2 separate regions of the Homo sapiens genome follow, and region 1 is linked to region 2. The links are contacts of gene promoters, found by promoter capture Hi-C in human tissues and cell types (Jung and others, 2019). All regions are on one chromosome and are shown on one strand. The core of a region is centred on a gene start or on the middle of the fragment in contact, and the rest is flanking DNA. Distances in the headings are between cores, read along the strand shown. Region 1 has its middle 120 kb from the start of LINC02627. Region 2 holds the start of SORCS3 (sortilin related VPS10 domain containing receptor 3).

The links. The method cuts DNA at HindIII sites, captures the fragments that hold promoters and counts their contacts. A contact is called where the count stands out against the background at its distance.
Region 1: a fragment that was not itself captured here is called in contact with the fragment with the promoter of SORCS3 in region 2 in 1 of the 25 tissues and cell types used here (dorsolateral prefrontal cortex).

The regions. Positions count from the first base shown.
Region 1 is chr10:105,938,639-105,943,257 of GRCh38, forward strand. No RefSeq gene overlaps it. Among named protein-coding and RNA genes, the nearest start is that of LINC02627, 120 kb to the left of the region's middle. The HindIII fragment of the contact is 5,696 bases long and covers 1-4,619 here.
Region 2 is chr10:104,639,110-104,643,402 of GRCh38, forward strand. SORCS3 (sortilin related VPS10 domain containing receptor 3) reads left to right here and starts at 2,181. Exons shown (of 27, transcript NM_014978.3): 1 at 2,181-2,845. The coding sequence starts at 2,219. The HindIII fragment of the contact is 5,425 bases long and covers 1-4,293 here.

The DNA of each region.
Region 1 (4,619 bases), core at 1,454-3,953, 1.3 Mb after region 2:
GTAAATCAATATATTGAGGAGATACCTGCATTCCCATGTTTATCGCAGCATTATTCACAATAGCCAAGATACAGAATCAACCTAAGTAGATGAATGGATGAAGAAAATGCGGTATATATACACAATGAACTACTAATTAACTGTAAATAAGAAAAAAAAAAAGTCCTGCCATTTGGGACAAATGGATGAACCTGGAGGACATTATTTTAAGAAATACAATCCAGGTGCAAAAAGTGTAATCTCACTTACAAGTGTAATCTGAAAATGTTGATCTCATAGAAGCAGAAAGTAGAATGGTGGTTAGCATATGCTAGGGTTGAGGGAATATTGAGGAGATACTGGTCAAAGATTCAAAATTTCAATTAGGTAGGAGAAATAAGTTCAGTAAATCTCTTGTACAACATGGTGAATATAGTTGAAAACAATGTACTGTATTCTTGATAATTACTGAGTAGATTTTAAGTGCTCTCCCTACAAAAAATAACTATGTGAGGTAATACATAGTTAATTAGCTTGATCTAGCCATTCCATAATGTATACATATTTCCATGCAACATATAGTACACAATAAATACATACAAATTTTACTTGTCAGTTGAAAACATTGAATACATTAAGACATAGCAAAACATCTGAAAGGAGATCTTAGAATGCAATAATCAGTGAACATGATTCCAAACACAAAAAGTGTTCACAAAAAGTGAACACAAAAAGATATTCATAAAGTTTAAAAAGTCTAATATGTACCAGACAGAGTTCACTGTTGCCAAGGATAATTTGAAATGGGCACATCTATTCCCTTTCAGTAACTGTGTAAATTGTGTAGCATTTCTAGAGAATTGTACTATATCTTAAAATATGCAGGCATATTAATCTAGAAATGTATTCAAGCAAAGAGAAAAAACGTGTGAAAATATGTTCATTGCATTAATGTCTGTAATACTAAAAAGAACTGAAAACAAATTGTGTCCATCAATAAAAGAACTGGACAAATTATTTATAAGCCATACATAATAAAACATTATGCAGCTGCTTAAAATTACAGTTTTTTTGGGATACCTAAGACATGAGTGAACTAACACAAATATAATACTGAAACCATTGGCTAAATGCATTTATTGATGTATGACTGGAATGGAGAAATGGAATAGAGAAAATTCACCAGAATGTTGACAGTGGTTTTCTATGAATGGAGGGTCTTAGCAGGTGTTGTCAATGCTCTTTCCATACCCACTAGCTTTTGTTTTTCCTATGCAAGCTTTTCTGTGCTCTACTGGCAATTTCTGGAACTCTGCCTCTCATCTTTCTCCAGCCCTATATGTGGAATAATCAGGAAGTGAGGAAAAACGAAGGTTGGGAGGACAGCCCTCTGGGAATGATAAATGGTATTTAGAGAATAAACAATCCAGCTTCGTCCCCCTTGGGTACAGGGGGTTACAGCTGTGAGGAATGGTCCCTGTTGTCTCCCAGAGGTCTCCAGGAGACTGAACTCCTGTTGTTTTCAGCAGTCAACTATTCATTAAGGCACCCTCATTGGATTCTTTCCATTGTCTTTATTCCATACTCTGCTAAGAGTACTTCCTGATTTCACCTTCCACATAGGTTAGTTGCACTCAAATCTTTGCCATAGCTGCTGCTTAGGAAAGCATAAAAATGAGTTGTTTGAATTTTTTTCTTTCTTCGTACTCTTTTCTACTGCTTACATATTTTTCTCTATGTATGTTTCTATATACACATGTAAATAACTTATGGTCCTCAAAATGAAATACTCACTTTCATAGGTCTGCAACACTCTTGACTCACAAACACCCTATCTGTGAACAAACTGCTCATGTCATACTGCCCTAAGCTTCTTCTGGACACTCAACTATAGTTTCCTAGGAACAGCCTGTCTTCTCTCTTGACCTGCTAGAAGACATATAGAGCAGCTTTCAGCATATCTCCTTCTCTAAGAGTATAATTAACTTGAGCACAGTGCACGGCACGTAGGCAGTACTCAATAGTATCTGGAAACTATATTAATGAATAAATGAATGATACCAAAGCTTGCTACTGAAATCTCTAAACTTCTGCCCCTGGAATTAATTGCCTACATTCTGGGACTAATCAAATTCTGCTTTGAGTAAGATATCTTTTTTTCAAATATCTGTCTAGGCAGATGATCATTAAGCATCTGGGTTGGCATGTGACCTGGGCAAGCTGCTGACACTCTCAAAGACTCAGTTTTCTCTACTTGAAAGTGATGGAGTGTTGATATGAGGATTAAAGGAGATTATTTATGTATAGCTTTGACAGTGTGTAATAGGAATTCAAACAGTAGAGAAGCATATGGATGTATCAGGATGTGTTCAACCTTTGAAGACTGGCCAGTTCTACACTGCACTATGTGATAGAGTCCTTTGTTAGGAACGTCTGCTGGCAAGGCAGTAGGCTGGAAATCAGAATCACTAATAATTTAGGAACTGCCTTTATATTCTTACACCTAACTTAGACATCTAAAAGAGTTTTGTTCTTTGAATATTCTAAAAGTGAATTGCCAAATTTATAGGTTCCATACTATTTATTCAATTTATATGGGCATCTTATTGTCCTGACATTCCATTTTTAAAAGCAGATTTTCCCCTTTGCCTTGGACAATACGTCAAAGTTTTAATTACCATATATCATAAACTCCTCTTAAAGCAATATAAAATATATATGTCCTATAATTTCAACAAGCTTCTACAACCATGTTTATTCACAATTATAAAGGCCAGAAGCATCTTTACTATATACAACTTCCATTAAATAACAGTTATTAAGTGCTGCCCTGCTCCGTGCAGTATATGTAAACTGCTAGATACGTCTTCCATAATATTAAAGATGTCCCTAACTAGCTTGTCTAGAGATTTACATTACTTAAGAAGTCCCATTGCTGGAAAAAGTTCCATGTACATAAAGATAAGTTAAACTTCCTAAACATGCTTTCCCAGTGACTAAAGATATTTGTGTGATTTGCTTTTGTGAGTGTCTGTCTGTCTGTCTCTCTCTCTCTCTCTCTCTCTCTCTCTCATATTTATCTGCCCTATTTGCTTATCTTTCTATTGCCTCCTATTCTGACCTCCATTTGGAGATGAAAATGTCACCCGTCATTGCAGATGTGTACACATGTGATCTTTAGATCTGGTAGACAAGGCTTTTCTTTTTTTTCTTTTTTTTTGCACTTGACTCTAACTGCATTTGTCAATGTTCTTTTCCATTGTCTTAGTTTCTGTTGAATACGCAGTACGTATACATACCTGAAAATGCTATATTCATTTTAGGAAACATTGATTTAAGCATAGACTAGATGACTTTTTAGGGGAAGATTTAAAAAATGTGCAAAAGGAAAAGCTAGCAGCCTTATAAAGTACAATTATATCAGCTCTATACATTGATAAAGGAATTTTTGTTTTAGGCTTGCAAAATATTTCTGCACATTATGATTAATTTTATATCTGTTTTCCAGAAATATGGAGGGACACAAAAGGTTTGGAAAGAATTCAGAGGAGATTATTAAGATGAACTGAATTTCCATAAAAGAAGCCAGATAGCTATCTACTAATGGCAATGGGCATATGGAACATGGTAGATAATTTTGAGCAGGGGTCACCTCGTCTCCAGCTTACACTTCTGAGAAAACAGAAATATTTTCAAGAAAGGAGAAAGAAAACAATATTCTGATCATGGTAATTCTAAGTTTTCAAATTCCTTGTGCATGTGTATGTTTCGGATTTTGAAGTTCTTTTTCCCCCCTCAGAAGTTGGTATATTTAGACTTGCTGAAAAACAGAGGAACAGATATTTAATACCCTAGCAAATTTCTCAGTTCTTTCTATCTGTAAGCTGGTTTGTTAAAGCCTTGAGAAAACCTTAACATTGCTATTAACTGGTGACAAATATATAGAAAAGTTACAGAGTCTCCGATATGTTATCATTTGCCTTATTGGTAAGTAAGTACATTTCTTTTCTTCTTTACCTACTGAGGCCATGAGGAGCCCTATGTGTTTTGGTACAAGTTAGAAAAAGCAATCCCATTAGTAAATATAGTGGTATTTTATGTTTTTATAATGCAAATGGAATGTCTGTACCAATGGCACCAAGCCAAAGATAGAACCATTTGGTCTGAAAGTTTTATGCAAACTAGGTTTGTGCTGGTTTTGTCTCTGTCTGTGACTGAGACAAATTAAACAGCAATTATATGAGACAGTCTTTTGTCTTCATGGAGAACTAAGATGTCTTTTATATATGAACTGATATTTTATTATTTTGTGCACTTACATTTTAAATTAATGGTCTAGTTAATTATAGTTGAATTCAAGTCAAAATTCTATAAAAGTGCAGGTGACTGGCATCCACATTAATATCAAATTGTTCATCAGGAGTCCTGTTATTAGAGTAAATACCAAGAAAATTTACTATGATTGGGTCATTATTTTAAAGTGTCCCAATTTTAACATTTTTTTTTCTGGACAGTTGTGTTTTATTAGGATTGGGTAATTTACATTCATTATACAGAGTCTTACTGTATCATAAATTAAGGAAACATTAAGAAAAAGCATGTAGATTTACAAGTTGACAGGCAATCAGAGCTTTATGTTT
Region 2 (4,293 bases), core at 931-3,430:
TACCCGCTACTCCCTGTCTTTGGAAACCCACAGATGCCAGGACCCGCACCATTCTGGGCCGGACGTTGTCGCTGGCTTGGTTCTTTGGCCCAGCCTCCCCCGCTGCTAATTGCCATTTTGGCACCGGGTGGAAAGGCAAGTTCAAGAGGGCGGGGGCTCTCGGGAATCGCTGGATGTCTTCTTCCTTGGCCAGCTTAGATTCTCAGTCGCCTCTTCTGCCTCCTCCATCCCTCTTGGCTCTTACCTGGCGCCCTTTCGCCTCCTCTTCTATCTCCCTCTTCCTTTTGCACCATTCTCTCGCCCCTTTTCTCCTTCATCTTGTCTTTCCTCTCTCCCCTTTTCCCTCTATTTTCTCCTTCATTCCTTCCTCTCACCTTTCTTTCCTCTCCGCGCATTCCCCTCCCTCTCGCTCCACTTTAACCATCTTCTAGAGAGGAGGAACTCTATCTACTCCCGAAGGGGAGGAGCAGGGCTGGAGGCTGTCTCTCTCTCCCTAAGCCTCCTCCCTCCTGCCTCCTCCTTTCTTAATAGCTCCTCCTCTAGCTCCTCTAGTCTCAGACTTTTCAACCCCTAGAATCCCAGGGGCTTCTCGGAGGCGGCGAGCTACACCACATGTCCTGGGGCCTGTAAACCGCAGCTCGAGGTCGTCTGTGGGTTTAGCTCATTTCCCTTCAGCCCACCTGAAGTCTCCTTCTTCCTACGGTCACGAAGGATCTCAGCTGCACCAAGCGCGCAGGCTACACTCCTGCAGTAGCGGATTGGGGACCAGATAAGCCCACGCGGCTCCCGCCTGAGTACCCTCTTAACTGGCGGCCGACACTTTGAAACAATTGAGTCCGTTCAGAAACGGACTGGGGAGAGTGAGGGCACGACCTCAAAATCCTAGGCAGCAAAATGAGGTCTGGATCCTCCCTGGAAGAACAGACATCTCGACTACTCTCTCGCCCCACCTCTGGCCGGGAGGTCGGGGCAAGGAGAATCCCTCAACCGAGAAGATCTGGCAAGTCCCCGATCCCACCGGGGCCTTCCGCCTCTTTTCCCTCATCCCCTAGGAGGCTTTATCAGGTTCTAACCGCTTGTAGTGGGGGCCGTGGGTGCTCGGGGCGCCAAGAGGAGGGGGCTGCCGAGAGCGGCCTGCCTAGTTCTCAGCATTGCCTCTTTGACCACTCGCAGGCTCCTGGAAATGCAAACACAGCCCGTGCGTGATCCGCACGCGACCAAAAGCCGAGCGCACACCTCCCGCCCCCGCCCCACTTGCCATCGCTCACACTAACGTGCACACATGCTCGTGCAAACGCGCACGCACGGAACCGCGCGCCCCCTCACACCCAGCCGCGCTCCCGGCCCGGCTCAGCCAGGTGCCCCCACGCGGCAGCGCCCGGTCTGCCCGCCGGCCCCCTGCGAACCCCTCGCCTCACGCCCGCCTGCCTGCGCGCACGCACGCGCACGCACGCATTCCCCACGCCCCCGCGCGGGGGCGCAGGCCTTGGGTGGCGGGGTTTGGCCGGGAGCCGGCCGGGCCAGGGAGCGGCGAGCAGAGTCCAGGGTGCATCCCGCGCTTGGCTTCCGTGCGCAGCCTCCCCGCGCGGAGGCACCTGGCTCCCTCTCGGCTCTAGAACGCGAACAGTTGGCGTTGAGCACACAACTCCTCCTCCTTCTCCCCCGAGACCCCTGTACCCTCCCCGCGCGCCATCTCCCGCCCCTCATAACAGGCCCGAAGAGTAAACCCCCAAACGCGTCCAGAAGCGGCTCCCAACTCTTCGCCGGGAGCACGTTGGAGGCTGGATTTCGGAGAGACTCGGGATTGGGGTCTATTGCCGGCCCCTCCTGGATCCGGCTTGATTTTCATATTTTAAGAAGATTTTCTTATTACCTTTGATTACTCCTTTTTACCAAATTTCTGGAGGAGCTCAGTGGGGAGGATTGGGGGGAATCTGATTTTAAGAAAGAAAGCACCGAAGGGGCAATTATTAATTTTCCTCGGGTTTGGAATCACCCTCTGGACAAGAGAACGGGCGAGCGGGAGCTAGGAGGGAAGAGTGGAGAGGACCGGCGAGGCGCGCCAGCCGGAGCCACCTCCTTCCCGGCCGCCCCCTCCCCACTCCCCCTACACACACACGCTCGCTCGCTCGCCGGCGCGCGCACACCCCCCGCGCCGGACCCGCACCTCGGCGGGCGCCACACACTCGGCAGCCCGAGCCGCGGTAGCCGCAGCGGGATGGAGGCGGCGCGCACGGAGCGCCCCGCAGGCAGGCCGGGGGCGCCGCTTGTCCGGACGGGGCTCCTACTCTTGTCGACGTGGGTCCTGGCCGGCGCCGAGATCACTTGGGACGCGACAGGCGGTCCCGGACGCCCGGCGGCCCCGGCTTCGCGGCCACCGGCGTTGTCTCCACTCTCGCCGCGGGCAGTGGCCAGCCAGTGGCCGGAGGAGCTGGCGTCGGCGCGGAGAGCCGCCGTGCTGGGGCGCCGGGCCGGACCAGAGCTGCTGCCCCAGCAGGGCGGCGGCAGAGGCGGTGAGATGCAGGTGGAAGCCGGAGGGACATCACCGGCAGGCGAGCGGCGGGGCCGGGGCATCCCAGCTCCTGCCAAGCTTGGCGGCGCGAGGAGGAGTCGCCGGGCGCAGCCCCCAATCACCCAGGAACGCGGGGACGCCTGGGCCACTGCTCCGGCCGATGGTTCCAGAGGAAGCCGTCCCCTTGCTAAGGGTTCCCGGGAGGAGGTGAAGGCGCCGCGGGCTGGGGGGTCGGCGGCTGAAGACCTCCGGCTGCCCAGCACCTCCTTCGCGCTGACCGGGGACTCGGCCCACAACCAAGCCATGGTGCACTGGTCGGGACACAACAGCAGCGTGAGTACCCACCCGGCGGCGGGTCCGCCTGTTTCCTGACACCGAAGGGGAATGGGGGGGTGGGTGGGAGCGAGGGACAGATAGTTGCTCGGGGGTCGAGGCGGGGGACGCCTCGACTTTTCGAGATAACAGGTTTGTCCGATTCCCCCCACGCCCCCAACAGGTTAACGGAGTTTGTTGTTAGACGCTGTGTGTGTTTGTTTACTGGAGACCCTAGGCTTCGGCCGCCGGGAGGGGAGTGGAGGAAGGGGCTTCTTAAAGATGAGTGGGGGAGGGATCTGTGCTCACTTTCTCCAATACTTGGCTTGGAGGGTCAGTTTTCCTGTTTGCGGGGTGCTTGAATTCTTGGATGAGAAAAAGGGCTGACTTGGGGCGGGAGCCGCTGAACAGACCGATTCCTGCGGCTGCCGGGCTCCCCCTACCCCCACCCCACCCCCACCCCCCCTCCCGTCACGCGAAAGGGAACCCGGAAGGCCATTCGGACTCCCAGCCTCCTGCTCGCCTCGGGGTCGCTGCTATCCGCTCCAGGCGCGCAGTCCTCCAGCCCAAGAGGGAGGCTCGGCCAAGTCGGCCCCCAGCCTTGGCCTTCAGGTAACCCCGGTTCCTCCTTCAAAGTCCAGGGAGCGGCCCTGGAAAGCCGTAGCAGAGGCCGTAAAAAAAAGTTTAAAGCGTGAAGCGAAATTCCACACCCATCCAGCGCTCATGCCACACCGCTCGCCCTCACGCACGCACAGGCACACGGAAGTCGCTCAGCAGAAAACTCTCGACTTCACCATTGCGTCCTGCGCCACAAACGGCTCCCTGAGCGGAGTTGGGTGCCTGAGCTTCCTGCACACCTCTCCACCCGCTTTTCCCCGCCACCGGGTTCTCCTGGACAAGGATGTACCGAGAGGTGGCGTCGTTGAGCCCGGTCTGGCCTACTCCGGCATTCCGAACTGGGCGCCCGACTGAGCATCGCGCCTGCCTGGCAGCTGCAGCGGCCCGCAGCGCGTGCCCGGAGGGGCTCCCCCTACCTCGCCGGCACCCAGCGCTGTGCAGCCAAGCAAAGAAAAGGCGGGGGACAGGTTCCCACCATCTCCCCGACTTCCCTCCCTCCCGCGGTCCCTACTAGAGCCAGATTTGGAAAATCCTTTCCTCTTCTCTGGCTCCATGGTTCAGATCAGAACCTGGCGTTGGGTAGGGTGCACGCTCCAGGCGGAGGATGACGGGTGTCTGTACAAGCAGCCTTGGGGAACTGATTTGATAGGAACTCACCCCGCAACTCCCTGCCGTTTTGTATTTCTCTTCATGACCGGTGTTTGACAAAATTTCTCTGGGAAATTTTTGCCTTATTTTAACAGAGCCTGGGATGTCCAGGATTGGGTATCTAATAAGAGGAAAGCGAGGGGTCCGCAGAAGGTAGTACATAAGCAATACCAAAGTGCAGATTTCTTGGTTTCTAATGATGC